Linked DNA regions of Homo sapiens: region 1 is linked to region 2. Evidence: promoter capture Hi-C in 16 types of primary human blood cells and fetal thymus (Javierre and others, 2016). All regions are on one chromosome and are shown on one strand. Each heading gives the region's core, a stretch centred on a gene start or on the middle of the fragment in contact. The rest is flanking DNA. Distances are from core to core; before and after follow the strand shown. Region 1 holds the start of SRP9 (signal recognition particle 9). Region 2 holds the start of LIN9 (lin-9 DREAM MuvB core complex component).

Evidence for each region. Contacts are between HindIII fragments. The CHiCAGO score rates a contact against its expected background, and 5 or more counts as called.
Region 1: the fragment with the promoter of SRP9 here is called in contact with the fragment with the promoter of LIN9 in region 2 in 2 of 17 cell types (monocytes and activated CD4 T cells); the score reaches 5.5 in monocytes.

Annotation. Positions count from the first base shown.
Region 1 is chr1:225,776,171-225,781,470 of GRCh38, reverse strand. SRP9 (signal recognition particle 9) reads right to left here and starts at 3,645. Exons shown (of 3, transcript NM_003133.6): 1 at 3,459-3,645. The coding sequence starts at 3,530. RefSeq lists enhancers at 3,306-3,675, 3,926-4,145, 3,892-4,652. The HindIII fragment of the contact is 1,703 bases long and covers 3,485-5,187 here.
Region 2 is chr1:226,306,677-226,312,271 of GRCh38, reverse strand. LIN9 (lin-9 DREAM MuvB core complex component) reads left to right here and starts at 3,108. Exons shown (of 15, transcript NM_001366245.2): 1 at 3,108-3,163. The coding sequence starts at 3,133. RefSeq lists silencers at 2,756-3,005, 3,426-3,655 and an enhancer at 3,209-3,975. The HindIII fragment of the contact is 5,962 bases long and covers 1,852-5,595 here.

The DNA of each region.
Region 1 (5,300 bases), core at 2,396-4,895, 530 kb after region 2:
CTGAGATTGCACCACTGCACTCCAGCCTGGACAACAAAAGCAAAACTCTGTCTCAAAAAAAAAAAAAAAAAAAAAGAAAAAGAAAAGAAAAAAGGCCAATCGTGTTTATAAAAGGGTCCATTTGGTAATTTAGAGGGTGCCAAGTCACCATGTCAGATGCCATAAAGAAAGAAAAATCAAGGTTCTTTACCAAAAATAACCAAAACACAAGGACAGAATGAATTAAGTCCTATAAAGGGATATACAGATAAAATGCTAAAGAGAGAAAACAAGTAACTTAGACTGGGAAAAAGGAAAGTCTAAAAAAGGAGGTGGCTTTGAAATGCTTTTTTTGTTTTAACCTTATAGAAGAAGGCAGAAGAAAGGCTAAAAATCATTCTGAACAAGGATACAATCCGGTAGCTTCATGAGACTAGAGCTGAAGATCATGAAAATGGTGAGACAAAGCCAGAAAGACTGGAGATGGGTCAGACTGTGACTGGGAGTTGGGACTATATCCAGTTATCAAAGAGCCAGTTTTTAAGCAGGAGATGAAGAATTCAACTTTTGTTTTTTAGACAGTTGTGGCAAGAGTGTTAAGGAACTAAAAAGGCTGACAGACCAACAAAGAGGTTATTACATAATCCAGTGGTAATGCCATCTTCAATTACAGCAATACAAGACAGAGTGGTAAAAAGATACTGGGTATAATCAACAGGTTAAATGTGTTGCGGAGAGAAGACAGAGAATTTTGGAAAACAGATTCCAGAGACCTGACAAAATTTGTTCTTTAGCCCTAGCAGAAAGAGAATGGACTTGGGGTTCAAAGATCTGGGTCCAAATTTCATCTTAATCTCTCAAGAAACTAGGTATATCACTTAACAGATATAAAATCATTCATTTATATACTTTGATGGGTTGCTGTAATTGTTCATATATTATGTATAAATCTATGTAAACACACATAAATATATATTAAATGCCTGTAACATATAAACATATGTAAAATGCCTGTCACGTAGAGGCGGAGGTTGCAGTGAGCCAAGATGGCGCCACTGCCCTCCAGCCTGGGCAACAAGAACAAAACTCCATCTTGGAAAACAAACAAACAAAAAAAACTGTTAAGCTCTTCCTCTACACTCATCCTCTCCCCTCTCAACATATCAGTCAAGCCAGGCGCCATGGCTTGTGTCTGTAATCCCAGCTACTTGGGAAGCTGAGGCAGGAGAATCACCTGAGGCAAGGATTTAAGACCAACCTGGGCAACAAAGCAAGAGCCCCGTCTTTAAAAAAAAAAAAAAAAAAAAAAAAAATTAGGCAGGCATGGTGGCATGTCTGTAGTCTCAGCTACTCAGGAGGCTGAGGTGGGAGGATCACTCGAGCCCAGTTCAATGGTGCAGCGAACTGTGATTTGTGCCACTGCACTCCAGCCTGTGCCAACTGCAATTTTCTGACTGGGTAAGAGGTGAAATATTCTCTTTCTTGTCTATTCTAGACATGCTTTGCTCACAGTGATGCTCTAATTATTTTCATTTTCCCTACCACTGCCATCACATTCTTACAGTACAGTTACTCTTGATGTGAATTTATATATTCTTTACTGTTGTCTCAAGTATTTTTAGTTTATACTGTGGGTACTTCTGGATAAAAGTCCTGTGTGGTCTCAGAGTAGCATTGTCTGAATGAAGAAACAAATGACCCTGCCAACAAGGGAAGCTAACCAAATGAAGCAACCAGAAGTCACCAGTGTTATAAACAAATTACTCAATTTAAAAAATACAATTTCCATCATTTATTATTGTATCATTTTATTGTAAAAAATAGAAGTATGTTTTACAGCTTGTTACTTAGCTAGGTCTTTCTGTGGGTCTAATACTATTTTTAATCATAATTATCAACATTTCTTGCTGCACACTTTAAACTTATATGCACTATAAACTGTATGTGGCATTGGAGTTACAGGTTACCAGCTCACTGCATACACTTAAAACATAATTCATATTACTTAATGATCATCAATAGTTTCACACAGTAAATCCTGAGCCCTGGGCTGGGCGCAGTGGCTCACACCTGTAATCCCAACACTTTGGGAGGCCAACGCGGGTGGATCACGAGGTCAGGAGTTCCAGACCAGCCTGGCCAAGATGGTGAAACCCCGCCTCTATTAAAAATACAAAAAATTAGCCAGGTGTGGTGGCAGGCGCCTGTAAACCTAGCTACTCGGGAAGCTGAGGCAGGAGAACCGTTTGAACCCAGGAAGTGGAGGTTGCAGCGAGCTGAGATTGAGCCATTGCACTCCAGTCCGGGCGACAGTGCGAGATTTCGTCTCAAAAAAAATAAAACTATTGAAAAAAAAAAAAAAAGATCCTGAGCCCCGGTTTTCCGAGATTTTATCTGCTTTTAATTTTCTTTCTTCTCCGAGGGATACAGTCACAATACACTGGATCTATAATACCCTCCAATAATACCAGCTCCTTAAGGGTTGAACGGAATCTCATTCACCTTTGTGTCTCCCACAGAACCTAATTTAACTTGGGGTCAGTAACACGAGAGTGGGAAATGAATGCAGCATAAAAGAGATAACTGAGTTACAACAAACACAAAACAAAAGAAGCATCATACATAACCAGGTCTGAGGTTTTCAGTATAAAATCCCTTCAATATGCTGAGTTCTAAAAAGAAGCAGAACTTTTAATTAACACGAAGATGCTTCAAATAATTCTTAGACATGACAATAAAATAACCAAAACCTCAAGAGACGAAAAGTAAGACCCGAATGCTAAACTCCCATCACTTGGACTCCTTTGCTTTTTAATAATGAGCTAACCTCTGACATCCACCTCCATTATAATTTTTGTGGGGGCTAAGAATGTATTTCAGAGGTCCATGAATCCCTTAAAATTGTTTGCAAACATTTACTTATACATTTACTTATACCATTTTTCTGAGGAAAGGTGCAAATATTATTCTTATGGTCCCAAAGCCTGTGACTCCCAAAATACTAAGAACCAATATTCTGGGGGGTACAGATGCTTCCAAATTGGAATCTTTCAAGAATGTCTGAGCGGTAGTAGAAAAAACATCATCAGTTTTATATACATGAGGTACCCTTACCGCCTAGGCGGTACAGGAAAAGTGAACCAAGACAAAGGACAGGAAGCTGCAGGGGGAGGAGCCCTGGCTTCAGGGACTCGTAAAACAACCGAAGCCATAAAGGAAGCTGAGGGACTGGGGCGGGAAGATCGATTGCAGAAATGTTTAGGGCTGAGATGAACCTGGCTGTTGCCAGCTTCAGGGCCTCACTGGGCCGCTAGATCAGGGAAGAAGGGGACGAGAGAGCAGAACATTAACTTGGCAGGGTCCATTTGTGTTCATTCCCAGCACCTCCTGGGAGCGCTGGGGAAGCTCCAGGGGCCGAGTGGATGGCGGGAAGACATCCTGGGCTGGGGCCCAAAGCAGCGGCCCCGCCAGCGATTTACCTTCATAGGGTCAGCGAGGTAAAGCTTCTCGGCAGCGCGGCTGAACTCCTCCCAGGTCTGGTACTGCGGCATCGTGGCCTAGAGTGGAAAAGTAAAGAGAAGCAAGGCCTCAGAACCCGGCCCAACAAACTACCTACGTCCGGGAGTCGCCAACCGACGCGAGTCCCAGCAGCCCCAAGATGGCGGCGCCTCCTCGCACCAACGCCTCGCTCCATTGGACAGCCCCGTCCATGCTCGCCCAATGGGCAGGAGGGATGTTGTCAGGGAGTGGGCGGAGCCCAGGGCGTGTGGCTCGAGAGCTGAGCGAGACAAGCGGAGGGCACGGCAACCAATGCCGGCTGCCACAGCGCCCCCGGTAGGGCTGAATGAGTGGCGTCCGTCCCGTGGCCCTCAGGGCTGAACCGCAGCTGCCTTCAACAAAGATTAAGCGGCTCTGCGATAGTCGCTGCATATACGAGGAAGGAGGCGACAGGGCCCAGCTGTCACACAGCTTGGTGAAGAAGCCAGGAGACATAAACACAAGAGTGCAACGGAAAACTTTATATGATAAACATTTATGTCGGGTTAGTGGAGCGCGAAGGAAGAAGGATCTCTTGTGGGTGGGGGGAGACTCACAGAAGCGGTGCAAGCTCAACAGGTAGGCAAGGAAGGGCAGAACACGTAGGCCCATTTTAGATCTGCAGTGTATGTCAGATGACTGGTGTTTAGGAGATGAGGAAGAAGCCATATTATCACTTCTGCAAGGATAAAAAATCTGATCCTCCAAGCAGGAGGATCGCTTGAGCCCGGGAGTCCGAGGCTGCAGTGAGCCATGATCGCGCTACGCACCCAGCCTGGGCTTCAGAGGAAGACGCTGGCGCAAAAGTAAATAAATAAAGAAGATGGCCTGCAGGGGACACCAGGTAAAGGGTATTATATTTTGAGATGGAAAGATTTTGTGCATGTTTATAACTTTTAGAGAAGGACACATAAGAGATAGAAAAATAAAAAATACAAGAGAAAGAAGAAAGCGAGGTCTCGGGAAATATGAAGGGGAAGACCAAAGGCCCAGATGAATAAAAACAGGTGCATTATTGCCTTTGATGGGGTGAGGAGGAGGGAAAAGTCGGGTGAGGGTATAGGTGAGCATGTAGATACGAGGGCAAGAAGGTACATTTTCTTGTCACCTAAGACAGGAGACCACCTTCGTAAATAGGAAGGGTGGTTTTGGATCTTTGAGGAAGCAAGGATGGGTTTGGATCCTTGAGGAGAAGGTTTGGAAAAGCCATTGTGAGAAATGAATAAGGAAGCCTATTAGAAAAAAACAGGTGGGAAGCGGTGGTGCACACCTGCAATCCCAGCACTCTGGGAGGCTGAGGTGGGCAGATCACTTGAAGTCAGGAGTTCAAGACCACCCTGGTCAACATCGTGAAACCCCATCTCTACTAAAAATAAAAAAATTAGTTGGGCTTGGTCGTGGGTGCCTGTAATCCCAGCTACTCTACTCGGGAGGCTGAGGTAGGAGAATCTCTTGAACCCAGGAGATGGAGGATGTAGTGAGCCAAGATCGCATATCACTGCACTCCAGCCTGGGCAACAGAGCAAGACTCTGTCTCTAAAACAACAACAACAACAACAACAAAAAAAGAAACTCAAAAGCAATATGTCAAGTAGAGTAAAAAGCTGAAACTGGAGATCATATCTGGGAATAGCCCCAATTAGGGTCTGTCTCCAGCAACACCCAGAAGCTTGGATTTTGGACTGGAAAAGACAGATATTAGGGATTTATAGGGTACATGAGGAAGAAGAACAAAGGGTCAAGAATGTTGTAGGTGGTACTGGCAAGAGAATGATTGAAATGAT
Region 2 (5,595 bases), core at 1,859-4,358:
TGGTATTCCCTCCAAAATTCAGTTGTAACATAATCCCCAATGCAACAGTATTAAGTGGTGTGGCCTCTGGGAGGTGATTAAGTCATGAGGGTTCTGCTCTCGTGAATGGGGTTAGCACCCTTATGAAAGGGCTCAAGACTGAAGGAGGTGTTCTCTTGCCTTTCTGTCCCTTCTACCATGTGAGGACACAGCATGCATCCCCTCCAGAGGATGGAGCAACGAGCCACCATCTTGGAAACAGAGAGCTGCCCTCACCAGACACCAACATTGGCACCTTGATCTTGGACTTCCCAGCGTTTGAAACTGTGAGAAATAAATTCTTGTTGTCGGCTGGGCACGGTGGCTCATGCCTGTAATCCCAGCACTTTGGGAGGCTGAGGCAGGTAGATCACTTGAGATCAGGAGTTCAAGACCAGCCTGGCCAAACTGGTGAAACCCTGTCTCTACTAAGAACACAAAAATTAGCCAGGAGTGGTGGCAGGCACCTGTAATCCCAGCTACTCTGGAGGCAGAGGCAGGAGAATCGCTTGAACCCAGGAGGCAGAGGTTGCAGTGAGCCGAGATCACACCATTGTACTCCAGCGTGGGTGACAAGAGCAAAACTCCATCTCAAAAAAAAAAAAAAAAATTCTTGTTGTCTATAAATTACCCAGTCTCAGATGTTTTGTTATAGCAGCACAAATGGACAAAGACATACGTGTAATCCTCCCATCACAGAGGGAGTCACTGAGGCACCGAAAAGTGGGCTAGATTCCTGATTCTAGCACTTGCTTGCCATTGTCTTTGGACAAATTACCAGGTTGTTGGGAGAATCAAGTAAGCCAATCATTGTAAAACCTGTCATAAATATTCAATAACGAAACTTATTGAAGAGTTAGGTGTGCCTTGGCTTCGATCACACAGCTAAGCGCTAGATCTGGGGCTAGGATACAGCTTCAGGCTTTGGATTTATGAGAAGAGTCAAAGTTTTTGTTTAAAATGCAGATTATCAGGCAAGGGCCTAAAAACATTGATTTAAACAGTAGTTGTGTTGTTGCGTGTACATGAAAACTGCCTCAGAATAAAACCAGGTTTGCCTTGGTCTAATGACACCTTGACTATCATGACATTCACAAAGCTTTTGCTTCTCCCACTCTGGTAACCTCTCATGTTTTTTTAATTTCTATTCTTCCATTCTTAAAGGGCTGACCTTTTCTTGATCTCATCTCCAAATTGATACTGAAGTGCAAGCTGCTGAAGCACCCCCTAGGTGCTGACAACAAGGACCAGTGTTTTAATCTTCTTAGGGAGCAGATCAGAGTGTGTTTAGAAGGCAAAGGAGAGGTTAAGCTAGCTCTGAAGGAAGGATTACTTTGTAAAATTGAACTTTCACCCTCCCTGCTCACTCCCTGCTCTCCCTCCTACCTTAGCATGGCAGCACCCAGTTACCCAAGGCACAGAGCTGGCATCAGCAATGAGACTTCCTTCTCCTCACACCCAGTGACTCACCCAATCCTTTATTTTCCACGTCTTGAAAGGTGGAGTGCATGCTGCCACCTCTCTCTAATACTGCCTATGCTGTGGTAATGGTGGTAATAGTGGCTAGCTGATGGGTGCTAGCAGCTAGTATAAGGTCCTTACATCTATCAAATCGTTTAGCCCTCAAAATAACCCTGTTATTTGCATTTTACAGATAAGAAACTGAGGCACAGAGAATTCGGTTAAGAAACCAACGTGCCTGAGATTATACAACTAGCAGCCCATCTGGATTCTTCCCATCGAGGCCCTGGGGCTCCAGAGCCCACCCGCTGCACCTCTCTAGCTACCAGTGCAGGCATCTCTCTTCTGTCCTTTGCATGCCCCAAATAAGCTTCTTCCTGACTGGTTTCTAGGCTCTCATCTTGTCCCCCACCAATCCATTTCCCATATTTTTGTTCTAAAACACAAATAGAAACGTGCCCCTCTTACACCCGACTTTTCCACTGCTCCAGTGGACTAAGCAAGTTCAACTCCTTAGCCTGGGCGGGCCTCTGTGTACCACTCTGTCACCTTAGTCTACCGCCTTTTAACTTTGTAGTTCCTGGAATTCACCCACGTTGTCTTTTGACTGCTTAACGGTCTCATTCCTCCAACCCCCATAAATTCCTGGAGAAAAGGATTGGAGCTCAATGACATTCGTTAAATGAATTTTTGAAAAGCAACAGTGTTTTATTACTGGAAAGTGTTACAGACAGATATTGTGAAATTTTTCCTTGGGCTTCTTTCAATTTCGTTCAATTCTCGTCCAGTATTCTCATAACATTTGGATCAGGTACTTTATCACCTTGTAGTGTCACTGTTCCTTTCTGTATCCTCTCGAAGCCTCCTGTTACTCGTTTTCTAATTCTCTTCCAGCCCACTGCACGATCTAGTGTCGAATGGATGAAACAGCTGAGCAGAACAGTTCTTTAGCTGTCGGCCTAAATGACCAACTTCATGACCTCTCAAGGTCTCGCTCCCCGGCTGCACGCAGCTCAGCTTCCAACATTCGGGAAAGGCGTGCCCGGATCGCGAGGGGCCGCTGGGACCGAGTCCCGGACGTCGCGACGCGCAGGGGGCTGCTGCGGCCGGCGGTCTCGGGAAAAGTGAGGGGACGGAGGCGCCCAAGCAACGTGGGTTTCGGGAACTGTGAGTATTTCACTTTGCGTAGAGCCCCCTCGGGCAATGCGACCCAGAACCGAGGGCTTCTTTCCCCCCGCCGGGGCCTCCCTCCCGTTCTCCACTCGGAACAAACAGCCTGCAGTTCCCGCAGCTGCAGCGCGGGCCGCGGAACATGCGCCGGGAGCGGGGCCCGGGCGGGACTCCGGAGCTGGTACTGCTCCCCCCGCGCTCCGGCGCCGGGCCTCGCCGTGCGGCCTCCTTCCTCCCTTCCTCCCGCCCGGCTCGGCCGGAGGCGGCGGCGGAGGGGCGAGGCGCGGCCCCCCTTCGGCGGCACCTCCTCCCCGGGCAGGCGCGGGCGGAGCCGGGCCCGCCTCAGCCAGCCGCGGCGGGAGCAGCGCAGCGCGGCGCCGCGGGCAGCGAGCTCCGCATTCGAACCTCCCTCGCAAAGACAGTCTCCGCCCCACAATGCACCGCGGCGGGCAGCCTTTGAAAAAGCGGCGCGGCTCGTTCAAGATGGCGGAGCTCGACCAGTTGCCTGACGAGAGTGAGTAGCACCTCAAAGCACCCCCCCCTTTTCCCGCCTGCTGCTTGCCCAGCGGTTGCACCGGCCGGGACGGACGGCCGTGCCCTCCGCTGGGCAGGTGGGCTGACTGCCAGCCCCACTGTGGTCCCCTAGTCCTCCCACTCCGGTGTTGCCGCCGCGTCGCCGCCTTTGTTATGGTGTCTGTGTGTTGGTTTCTGGGGTTGTGTGAGCGCCAGGGCCGGAAACCGAGAGCCCGGGAGTCCAGCCTGTGCCAGGCGGAGGCGGTGGCTGCTCCCCTGGCGCCACTCCGGCCCCCAGCCGAGGTGGAGGGAAGAGCGGCCCCTGGGCGCGGGGGCTGTCCTCGCCGCCTGCACCACTCGCCCGGCGCCGAGAGACGCCCGCCGGGGTTATGTAACTCGCCTGTCCCGGGGCCGGGGGAGGGCTCGGGCTGGGCACGGGGTGGTCCACGGCCCCTTCTTCTTGCCCCAGCCTCTGATCTTGTCCTGTCACAGCTCCTGCCTCTACGGGCACTTGTGATCTTCACTGTCCTCCCCACCCCCCCACCGGTGTGTCCACCCCTGGAAGTGTTTCCGTGTCAGAGGGTTGGCCCCTTCCCCTGGGACCACAGGTGGCTGTGGACCTTTCCTGAGATCATCCAGCCCGGATACTCAGTGTTCAGGTAGACCCCGTCCCGCAGACTTTATTCTATATGTGTCTTAAGAGCCATAAAGGTACCTTTATGCATGGATGTGACCAACACAGCGTACGTGTACCCTGCCTGACACCCACCCTAGGGCATTGCCTCCCCTAACCATGTTTACTCACCCTGACATCTAAGACATGTATGCTCACTTGTGTTGAGTAAGTAAAAGCACCAATTCCATAGTTTAAGGGCAATGGAACTTAATTTTGTAATTTACAATATTGCATAAATTATATGAAAAGACAAATATGTTATTTAATTACAAAAAAAAGTCCTGAATCCACTTTCACTATTCAGTTTATACATATTTGTGAAAGGCTCAATTACTATTGAATCTTATCTATGCACAAGGCAAATGGACTTAAAAATGAGGACTCAACATACTACCGATTCCATTTTCTTTGTGAGGTCATGTGTTCTTAGTAAGTTATAAAGTTAAAAATTCAAGTTGCCAAGCTGGTGAAAAGTCGTATTAAAAGTGTTTGTGTTTTAAATTTGATAGAGAGCAGCACTAAGTCCCCAAGGAACTTTGTCCATGATAGAACTGTTCTCTTTTGTGATGTCCAGTAGGGCAGCCAAGCTACTAGCCATATGTAGCCATGGAACATTTCAAATGTGGCTAGAGTGATGGAGGAACTGAATTTTGAATTTTATTTAATTTTAACTTGCATAGTCACATGTAGCTAGTAGTCACTGTATTGGGTAGGGCACAGCTATTGACCAGTCATGAGCTGTACTGTTTATTTGTAGAATACAATTGATTGTGATTTATTTTATTTATTTATTTATTTTGAGATGGAGTTTCACTCATTGCCCAGGCTGGGGTGCAATGGTACTATCTCGGCTCATTGCAACCTCTGCCTCCCAGGTTCAAGCGATTCTCCTACCTCAGCCTCCCGAATAGCTGGGGTTACAGGCATGTGCCACCACGCCTGCCTAATTTTTTTGTATTTTTAGTAGAGATGGGGGTTTCTCCATGTTGGTCAGGCTGGTCTCGAACTCCCGACCTCAGGTGATCCACCCGCCTCGGCCTCCCAAAGTGCTGGGATTACAGGCGTGAGCCACCGCAGCTGGTCTTGATTGTGACTTAGAATGCTCCCAAATGAGTGTGGACCTACTAAGCACAGTGTACTTGTCATCCGAAAATGTTTTTCATCATCCTTGGTATCTTTATCATAAACATGTCTTATCACCTCTTGGATGTCACAATCACTAGAGCTACTGTTTTGGTTACTGTAGTCATTCTGTTGTAATGAGAGGCATTTTAAGTGGCTTTCTTACAACTGCCATTAGGAATATTTGCTTCATATCATCCAGCATTTATTGAGAATTTACTGTGGTTCTTTGTAGGGACTTGGGATTTATATTAGGGTTCAAATTCCAGCTCCACTTTCAAATTATATAACCTAATCATTTATATTACTTTGTGACATCTCTGGTGCATTGGTGTGTATTTGTGAAGCGTATGTCTTGTTTAGGTAGACTTCAGCTTTGTTGAAACCAGGGATTTTCTTTCTTTCTTTGTCATACAGTGCCACAAATCAAGTATACATAAATAATTTTTATGGAATTAGTGCAAAGTAACAGGTATTATTACTGAAACTAGAGCAGGGTCTTGAAAAGGAAAAGCGATTTCAATTTGATACTGGAAATAGCAGTATGTTTTTTGGCCACATTTAGTCAAGGAGGCTAGCTAATATATTGTTCAGGAGTCGATATAACATTATCAATAATGAAAGCTACCATTTAT